Linked DNA regions of Homo sapiens: region 1 is linked to region 2. The links are contacts of gene promoters, found by promoter capture Hi-C in blood cells and fetal thymus (Javierre and others, 2016). All regions are on one chromosome and are shown on one strand. The core of a region is centred on a gene start or on the middle of the fragment in contact, and the rest is flanking DNA. Distances in the headings are between cores, read along the strand shown.

What was found. The method cuts DNA at HindIII sites, captures the fragments that hold promoters and counts their contacts. A CHiCAGO score of 5 or more calls a contact.
Region 1: a fragment that was not itself captured here is called in contact with the fragment with the promoter of KDM5C in region 2 in 1 of 17 cell types (neutrophils); the score reaches 5.9 in neutrophils.

The regions. Positions count from the first base shown.
Region 1 is chrX:48,959,705-48,964,122 of GRCh38, reverse strand. It overlaps KCND1 (potassium voltage-gated channel subfamily D member 1), which reads left to right. Exons shown (of 6, transcript NM_004979.6): 6 at 1,317-2,743. The coding sequence ends at 1,542. Among named protein-coding and RNA genes, the nearest start is that of OTUD5, 4.3 kb to the right of the region's middle. RefSeq lists an enhancer at 2,143-2,292 and a silencer at 2,241-2,535. The HindIII fragment of the contact is 170 bases long and covers 1,881-2,050 here.
Region 2 is chrX:53,221,533-53,226,562 of GRCh38, reverse strand. KDM5C (lysine demethylase 5C) reads left to right here and starts at 1,356. Exons shown (of 26, transcript NM_004187.5): 1 at 1,356-1,823. The coding sequence starts at 1,674. It also overlaps a transcript of IQSEC2 not described here. RefSeq lists enhancers at 1,035-1,084, 962-1,256, 1,095-1,474, 1,715-1,814. The HindIII fragment of the contact is 15,929 bases long and covers 1-3,048 here.

The DNA of each region.
Region 1 (4,418 bases), core at 716-3,215, 4.3 Mb after region 2:
GGTGTGAGCCACCACTCTTGGCTGGTGATGCAGTTTTAGTAGTGTGGTCAGAGAAGGCTTTACTGAGGTGACAACTGAGCCAAGACCTGAAGGAGGCAAAGGAGTGGGCCATGCAGATAACTAGAGGAAGAGCTTTCTAAGCAGAGTGAACAGCCTGTGCAAAGGCCTTGAGGCAGATGTGGGTCCACATTAGAGACATAGCAAGGAAGCTATCATGGGTGGAGGAGAGTGAGCTGGGGGAGACTGGTAAGAGGCAAACTCAGAAAGGAGCGAGGGTCCCACCTTAGATCCTACTATGGACAGTTTGTAAGGACTTGGACACTGTTAGGAGTAACCATGAGAGATAGCATTTTCATATGTATGCACATTGTGTTCCAGACACTGCTCTGAGCACTTCGTATCATTTTTAATCTCATTTAATCTCCACAGCAACCCTATGAGGTGGGAGATAGTGTTCGTCCCATGCTACAGATGAGAGAAGAGAGAGGTTTGGAGTGGTTAAAGTGGGACCAGGATTTGAACCCAGGACTATCTGACTCTAGAGTCCTCACTCTTTACCACCATAATTGGGGATGCAGGAGAAGTACTTAAGTACTTAGCACAGTGCCAGGGACCCAGTAGGTGCTCAATAAATGCCATGATTGCTGTGGCAAGTATTAATTTTTTTTTTTTTTTTGAGACAGAGTCTCACTCTGTCACCCAGGCTGGAGTGCAGTGGTGCAATCTCAGCTCACTGCAAGCTCCGCCTCCTGGGTTCACGCCATTCTCCTGCCTCAGCTTCCTGAGTAGCTGGGACTACAGGTGCCTGCCACCACGCCTGGCTAATTTTTTGTATTTTTAGTAGAGATGGGGCTTTACCGCGTTAGCCAGGATGGTCTCAATCTCCTGATCTCGTGATCCGCCCGCCTCGGCCTCCCAAAGTGCTGGGATTACAGGCATGAGCCACAGCACCCGGCTGATAACTTTTTTTCTTTTTTTTTTTTTGTTGAGACAGAGTCTCATTCCGTCACCCAGGCTGGAGTGCAGTGGTGCAATCTCAGCTCACTGCAACCTCTGCCTGCCGGGTTCAAGCAATTCTCCCGCCTCAACCTCCCGAGTAGCTGGGATTACAGGCATGCGCCACCATGCCCAGCTAATTTTTTGTATTTAGTAGAGACGGGGTTTCATCATGTTGGTCAGGCTGGTCTCGAACTCTTGACCTCAGATGATCCACTCACCTCGGCCTCCCAAAGTGCTGGGATTACAGGCATGAGCCACCGCACCCGGCCTAAGATAACTTTTTAAGAGCCTTCCATCTTCTCCACCCTTGTCCACAGCCGTTCCAGCCTCAATGCCAAGCCCCATGACAGCCTTGACCTGAACTGCGACAGCCGGGACTTCGTGGCTGCCATTATCAGCATCCCTACCCCTCCTGCCAACACCCCAGATGAGAGCCAACCTTCCTCCCCTGGCGGCGGTGGCAGGGCCGGCAGCACCCTCAGGAACTCCAGCCTGGGTACCCCTTGCCTCTTCCCCGAGACTGTCAAGATCTCATCCCTGTGAGGGGTAGGCCTGCTGATTCAGAGGGTCCTCTTCATTTTTGGGAACTCCTTTCCAAAGCCATATTTTTGGGAGGCAGAGAGGGGCAGGCTTGGGCACCCCTTCTGCCCCCCCCACTGAGAACTATGCAATGGAGTTTCATGAAATGGTCCACATAGTGGGGAAGTAGCCAGGAAATGAGAAACTTCCTCCCACCCCAGACATTTTTCCTGGTGGGAGCTGAAGCACTGGGCTTCCACAGGCCCCTGGCCTCCTTGCCCTAGCACACTGGGACTGGCCCCACTCTCCCAGCTGGACTCCTGCATGCTCCTCCCCTTGGGCTCTCAGATGAAGGCAAAGCTTTGATCCGACATCTGAGCTCTAGCCTAAGAAGGAGAGTTGAGATTTCCTCCTCCCTCTGGCTGGGATATGGAGCTTTGGAGGTTCAGAGAAGAGAACCCTCACCTCTGATCTGGCCTCTACGAGAGGTCCTCATCTCCATCTGGCCCAACAATTCCCAGATTCTGAAGCTTGGAATGCAAACACAGGCTTCATGGGCTGTGGCCTCTGCAGCGACCTGCCATCCCCAGGCCTTGCCTGAGGGGTCAGGCTGCCTCTCCCAACACACACTCAGATAGCACAAATTCTACCATCCCCTTCCCTGGCTGCTGGAAATGGACCCCGCAACCCTGTCCTCTGCTGGGCCCCCAGCAAACTCTAGCAATAGCAGCTGCTGCCGTGTCATTATGCAAAGCCTCTGACCAGTTTGCTGCAGCATTTACATCTGCCCTAATCAGAGGGGCCACCTCTAACTCCTCCTCCTCCTCTCTTCTCCTCTGGTTTGCGTCCTTCCTGGGTTGGGCTGGAGTCTGGACTGGCTGAGATAAGAGCCTGGCAACCAGCAAGAGCTGGGCTGTATTTGGAGATCATGGGCTGATTCCATGTTCTTGGGCAACAGTCCAGAAGCATCAGGGGCTCCGGCCTGGGATGTTTCTGAACTTTGGGAGTTATAGGAGACAGGAGGAACTTCTCCTCCTCCTCCTCCCCTACAATTCCTTTTCACATATTCCTTTCTTCTCCCTCTTGGGTGACCTTCCAAAACTCTGCTCTCAGGCTGAAATCTGGCATCATCTCAGGTTCCCTGTCCCCAGCACTGTCCCCATGGAGCTGGTGGCTGACAAAGATGTAGTTTCCATCAGTCAATAAAACCTGAGAGGAGAGATGAGGACTGAGAGTATCTCCTGGCTCTGTGGGTTTGGGGGCTGGGTTGGGCTTGGGGGTTGAAAACACTCTGATTTCAATCCCTTTTGGCTAGGAGAAGGGCTGGTATGGGTCAAGGTATGGGAGATGGATGGTTGGTGATGTATTCTGGAAGATGGGGATCCAGGAGAAATGAAAGAGTGTGGTTTGAGGAGTTCATCTACAGCCAGTGAGACAGGCCAGGGGGTCCTGAGACATTCCTCCTTGGATATCATCTGCGCCAGCTTCCTGATTCACAGATCGGGAAACTGAGACCCAGAGAAACACATAGTTAGTTAGAGGAGGCTTAAACCCAGGCTTCCTGACAGCAAACAACCCTGAATTTAACCCTAATAAAAGCATCACTTTGTTTGGTGAATTTCCCTTCCTTGTGGACGCCCCCTACATTCTCTCTTCTGGGCTACTGGCTACACTAGGCTAGTGTGTGGCTGAGTTCTATAGAGCACTGAGCAGACAGACCATGGATTCAGGTTGATCTGGGTTCCAATCCCTGGGTGAGAGAATCACTTACCTTCTCTTGCCTCAGGTTGCTAGTCTGTGAAATAGGGATAATTCATTTAGTCACCAAATATTTATTAACTTCCATCATGTGCCAGCCCTAGGGATACAAAGGTGGGCAAAGTAGACATTGTCTCTGATGTATAGTTGAGCATGGAAGGCAGACAAGTAATTACAACATGGTGTGGCAGAACTAAGATCCATGTGTTATAGAGGCATGCAGATGGCAGGAGAACTTAACCTGGCCAACACACAGGGAATGAGTTGGAGTTAGCCAGGCAGCAAATGAAAGGATGCAATGTTCTGGGCAGAGGGAACAGCATGTGCAATGACCTGGAGGTTGGAGAGTGAGCTCAGGCCTTTGGGGAACTGAAAGTAGTTCAGTCCAGCTGGGGAGGAGAGTGTGAGGCTGTGAGGAGAGGAAGGATGGAGAGGTAGGCTAGATAATAAAAAGCTTTGAAGCTATGACGCGAATTTTAAACTTCATCCTAAAGATAGTGGGGACCTCTAAAGACTTAAACAGAAAACTCATGATGAAGTTTGTGTTTCAGAATGATCATTCTGGCTGTGGAGAGTGGATATAGAGAAACAGTCCTGGAAGGAAGAAAAGTAGGGTGGAGGCTTTTATAATAGTCCAGGTGGTAGGGGACAGTGGCTTGGACCAGAGTAGTGGCAGTAGAATTGGAGAGTCTAGAGATTTGGGAGGCAGAATTGGCAGGACTTGGGATTGACAGGCATGTGGGAGTTGAGGAAGAGGGAGCAGTCAAAGTTGACTCCCAGTTTCTGGCTTGGACGACGGCTGGATGGGAGTGCTATTCCCTGGTAAAGGGAACATCAGAGCTGTCAGCACTCAGTGCTAGGTACATAGTAAGTACTTGGTGAAGGGTAGCCATGATTGCTATCATGAGTTCAGTTTTAGATGTGTAGTGAGTGAAATATATGGGGCTGGAGTGAGATGATCATGAGAAGATTCAATGTGATAATGTGCATAGGCATTTGGCACAGAGCCCTGAACACAACAGGCCCGGTAAACGTGAAAGTCCCCTCCTATTAAGTCTCATGAGCAGAAAACACTACTTAGAGCCCATTTATTACTTACACCTTTCAGGGAAGAATTTCAACTAGGGTTAGTATCTCAAGGG
Region 2 (5,030 bases), core at 107-2,606:
GAAATGTTTGCAAAAAGTATTCATATTTTTCAGTCAATATATACTAAGGACATTTATTCATTTTTCTTTTGTTTACTCAACATTCATTTACTGCTTAACATGCCAAGTGCTAAGGATGTATAAGGCCACATGGTCCCTGCCCTTAAGGAATTCATAGTCTGATGGGGGAAAACAAAATTACTTAATCAGCATGTACGCAAGTACTCAAATATTTGCACAGTAGGTGTTCAAACTATATGCAGTAGGTCCACAGCTGATGAATGACACAGATGATCCTCCAATCAGTAGATGCCTGATGTATATGTACAAAGTACTGGTTTGATGATACTCATTCAAAGTACTGTAGTTGCAATGAACCTATTCAGAAACTGCTCAAGGAACATGCACACGATAGGACTAAATGTACATACAGTTGGTACCAAATGCACAGGGGCTATACACAATAAATACAATAAAAGTACACGGATGTTTGGTAAGTGCACTGTAGGCTCACAAATGGGCAAACAGGTGTTTTACACAGTTGACACTGGATAAATACGCCGTTGCTAAACATCCAATAGTTAAAGTATACATACACACAGGCTTATTTTGTAGGAGTATATGCCACAAATGTGTACATGGTAAAAGTGAATACAGAACAGTTGAAAGCGTTCATTAAAATGCTGACTCCCAGTGACTTTTGGGGGGTAAGAATCGAAACCCCATCTCTCTACCTGTAACCTTGGATGAAATAAAGATTTCCTTCCTTTACTTGGGACTCAGAATCCTAAAAATCCATAATCCCCGGGGAGTGAGCAGCTTCCTGCCTTCCTTATTTCAAAGCCCCAGAGGTGTCAGTGTCTAGAGCTGGAGCCTAGTACATCTCCCCCCATCCCGCGGGCCAGCATAAGGGGTCCTTTGCAATCAGGCTCCCAGAGCCGCCTTCCGCGGCCCATACCGTTAAGACCAGGGAGAAGGGACAGAGAACACTGGTGCGGGGCTAGCGACCTGGTTGAGGTCTGCGGGGGAGTGCCGGTTTGACTCCACCACCCACGGACACCAGCTCCTCTTCCGGTCTCCATAACGCGCATGCGCATCACTGGCCTTTAAACGTGCACCGCCGGTCCATCCGGAAAGACGATCCGGCAAACTAATTACAATCTTGTTCCTCCGCCGTTGCAATGAACTATTTTCTCTCAGTCCGGGGTGGTACTTTTGAGTAACCCCTTCCAAATAGAAACCCATACCAGCCTATTTAGCTCGGTCTCCACTATATGAAGGTTTCCTAGGGCTTGGTGTGACGCAACGTATACGAGGCTCGGAAGGACACCCCGCGGAAGGATCCGGTTTGTTGTGGTGTGGGGAGGGGAGACGCTGACAAACCAAGATGGCGGCGGCGGCGCTGAAGGCCGCGGCGTTTGGGAGGTAACTGTGGTGGCGAAGGCTGCGGTAGTGGGGAGGCAACCACACAGTTTGGAAGAAACGGAGCGGGACGAAGAGGCGGTAGCAGTAGAGTCAGCCTGAGACTCTCAGAGCACGACGGCCACACGCCCCCTTAGGCCCTCGGCGGGCGGCGGCTGCCCCGCTTAGGGCCTAGCCTCCGAGCATTGCCTCGGCTTCAAACAGCGGCGGCGCCATGAGTCCTTAAGGGCGGTCCAAGCCTCCCGATCCCTGGCCCAGACCTCGGGCCCACCATGGAGCCGGGGTCCGACGATTTCCTACCGCCACCGGAGTGCCCGGTGTTCGAGCCTAGCTGGGCCGAGTTCCGAGACCCTCTTGGCTACATCGCGAAAATCAGGCCCATCGCAGAGAAATCGGGCATTTGCAAGATCCGCCCACCCGCGGTAAGCCCCGGGGCCGGTTTTCGCCGGCGGCGAGACGGAATGAAGCAGTAGGATAGCCAGCGGCGAAGTCTGGGGCGGAGGGCAGCTCGAGGTGGGGAGAGGGGGTGGCTGGGACCGTTGTGGTTGCGGCGCGGATCGGAAAAAGGGTGTTGGGCCAGGGGTCCTCTCGTGGTGTGAGGCCCACAGGTGACCTGGAGTCAGAGATCCACCCCCACCCCGGCCCTTCAGAATCACTCCGGGTTTAAGACAGGGATTCCTAGTGGGCCGGAGGGAGTTCACAGAGAGGCACCCCGCACATCTCTTAGCCCGGGCCACCTAGGTCGAGGCTGTAAAAATAAGACGTTTCTCCAATCTGTTGTCATCACTTCCTTTAAGGCAGGCAGCATAGTATAGTATTAATAGAAAGATCGCAGTCCTGAAGGGAGACAGACTTGAGTTCAAAACTCCACTTTGAAGCTGAGCAGCTGTGTGACCTTGGGAAAGTAGAAGTAATCTCTCTGAGCCCGTGAAATGGATCCCAGAAATGGTTATTTAGAGGATTGAATTAAACTAGGTAGCGTCTGTATGTAGTACGCACTAGATAAGTGGTAATTATTGTGACTGTGAGGGTGTTTGATGTGGTCATTGGTTTATTCCTATGTAGGTTGACTCATATTTACTCATACCTTGCCAGGCCAATTCATCTATGATAATATCCTGGCCTGCTGGACCAGTCAGGAAATCAGTCTCACAGGGATTGCTCTGTCTCCCTTGAGGTGGGTTCAGGGAATTGTCCTCTTCTTTTCCTCGTTGAAGGCAATGTCAAGGCCTTTTCTGCACATCATCCCGCAGACTTGACTTCCTATGGAGATGTTTGGACCGGTCAGCTTGGTGGTGGGGTGTGAGTCCTTCTCAGAAGATTTCTACTCTCCTCTGGTCCAGGATGTAGGAGATCCCAGAGGATAGGGCACTCTTGGGCCCGCAGAACAGAATGGAGCCATGGAATTCTGTCCCTTTTGGAACATGATTGCCAGGGGTCAGCAACAAAGGCCATAGCTTTCCTCCTAGGCCTGGCTTCAGGCTAGAAGTCTCCCAAGGGCTAGGGCAAGCTGCTGCCTTGCTGATATGGTGGAAAAGTGATGATAATGTTCAGTGATCAGTTGGGATTCCAAGGGCAGAAATTGAGCTTTGCTGGAAAAGGGTGTTTTTGAGTGGGTGTCTCCTGGCTGAAATGGAATAGGAAGCTTCATTCCCACCTGAGGAGGGCACCACAGGCCTCCTTATCCAACTTGGTGCTTTCTGGTGCTCAGCCACAGATCTAGGATGGTTTCAGATAGATCCTCTAGGAGGTGTTGGGTAAGCGAATTTCTTCCTTCTTGGAGTCTGGCCACAGATTTCTGAGGTATCCTTGTCCATGGTGAGGGAGTGGCAGTGGGTAGAGGGTCAGGAAGGCTAGTGGAAGGGAGAGGCAGGAGTCCTGGGCAGCCTCAAGGAGGCACTCCCTGAAGTGGTTGGGCAAGCCTGTGGGAAAAAGAGGCATAGCTGACGTAGGGGGTAGTTGAGGCCTGAATTCCTTTTTTCTATCTTGGACTGACTTAGGCAGGCTGGCCTTGTGTAGGTGTTGTTACCCTGCTTTGGGGCATCAGGAAGGGGAAGAGTGACATGTCCCAGGTGTGCATGGCCAGCAGGAGGCCGTCCTTTTCACTGCTCAACAGTGTGCTTCTCTCTAATCCAGGATACCTGGCTCTCTGGTTTGGTTTTGTTTTTTCCTTCTCTATGGCAGCTCCTAGGCCACCTTTAGGCAGCTGGCCTTCTTCTGGTTGAAGTTTGAAGTACTCGCTCAAGTGATGCTTGGGCCCAGGGTGGGAACCTGTATATGGGTGGGTACCTGGGAATTGGAGGTTTGCTGGAGGAAGGATGGTTTGGGGCCTGAATTGCTGGGCAGGTGACTGCTACGCTTGGGAAAGATGGGTGGGAGGAGAGTGTGGGTACCCTGAGTAGACCCAGTGGAGTTTGGAAGGATCTTGCTTTCTTCATCAGGTAGCCAGCCTTTTTTTTATCACCACATCCCAGTAATACCAACATACATTTGGCATACAGTAGTCTGGAGATGAAGGCAGGCGGTTTGCAGGGCCTTCCCAGGTATCTGTTGCATCCATGGCTCCTGCCGTAGCATTCCAGGGCTGCCATTTCCTGTCAGGTGCTTGATGTTGCACTGATTGTCTAGAACTTGATTCAGCAGGAAAGAAGGGTGCCCGGAGTTTTGGGTTTGAGCACCTTTTTAGCTGGGTTACCTGTGCTGAGGGGAGTGCCCTATCCTGATGAGAGGCAAGAGGGCATGGGGAGCTTGTCTGGATTTGAGCCATACCATTTTGGCCTGCCTGTTTTTTTTTTTTTTTGTCCCTGCTTACTGAGCCCCAGATGTTTGCCACCTGCTTTGGCTGGTAGGGGCAGGGGAGTGTGGTCTGTGTATGCATGCAAAATATGAGTCCTCTAGCCCATTTTCTAAAAGTGTGTGTGCAGAAGAGGTCAACAGTTTTTCTTCTCTTTCACTGTCTCTCCCCCCCGCCCACGTGTATGCATGTATGTATGAACATTGATGTCTGGTGTAGTGCAAAGGCCTTGGATCAGAGGTCAGAAGACGTGGGTTCTTGGCCCCACCACTAACTCAGCATGTAATTTTGGAAATTTCACTTTTTTTCTCTGAGCCTCACTTTCCCCATTTATAAAATGAGAACATTGGTTTAGGTTACTTTAGGTTGATTTCACCACCCCAGCAGGAGCCAGGGCTCTGGGAAGGAGAGGTCTGCATAGGAGGTTGGAAAGGGGTGTTGGAGAGGGGGTTCTTCACAGCTGACCTTTGGGCAGGACACAGCAAGCTCCAACTTGGCAGAGCAGAGTGTCTCCCACTTTCATGATCTTTCCCTGACTTCCCTCCCCAAATCCTCCCATTCTTTGCCACCACAGTCAGGCATCCCAGCACTTACCCCCACCCCCTGGGGCTTCCTCCCCTGCCTCTTCCTGTACCAGGCAGGTGTATGAGAGAGGATCTACAGGAAGCCTTCCAGACTGGGTGAGTGATACACATACTTGCTCCCTGTTCCTTGCTCTTCCCTGCAGTGTCTATCTCAGGCCCTTTAAACTGAGAGAACAAACATTAAAGGCCCAAACCTTTACGTCCTGCCACAATCGGACCTGAGCTACCCTGCATGTGTATTGTGAGGTGTG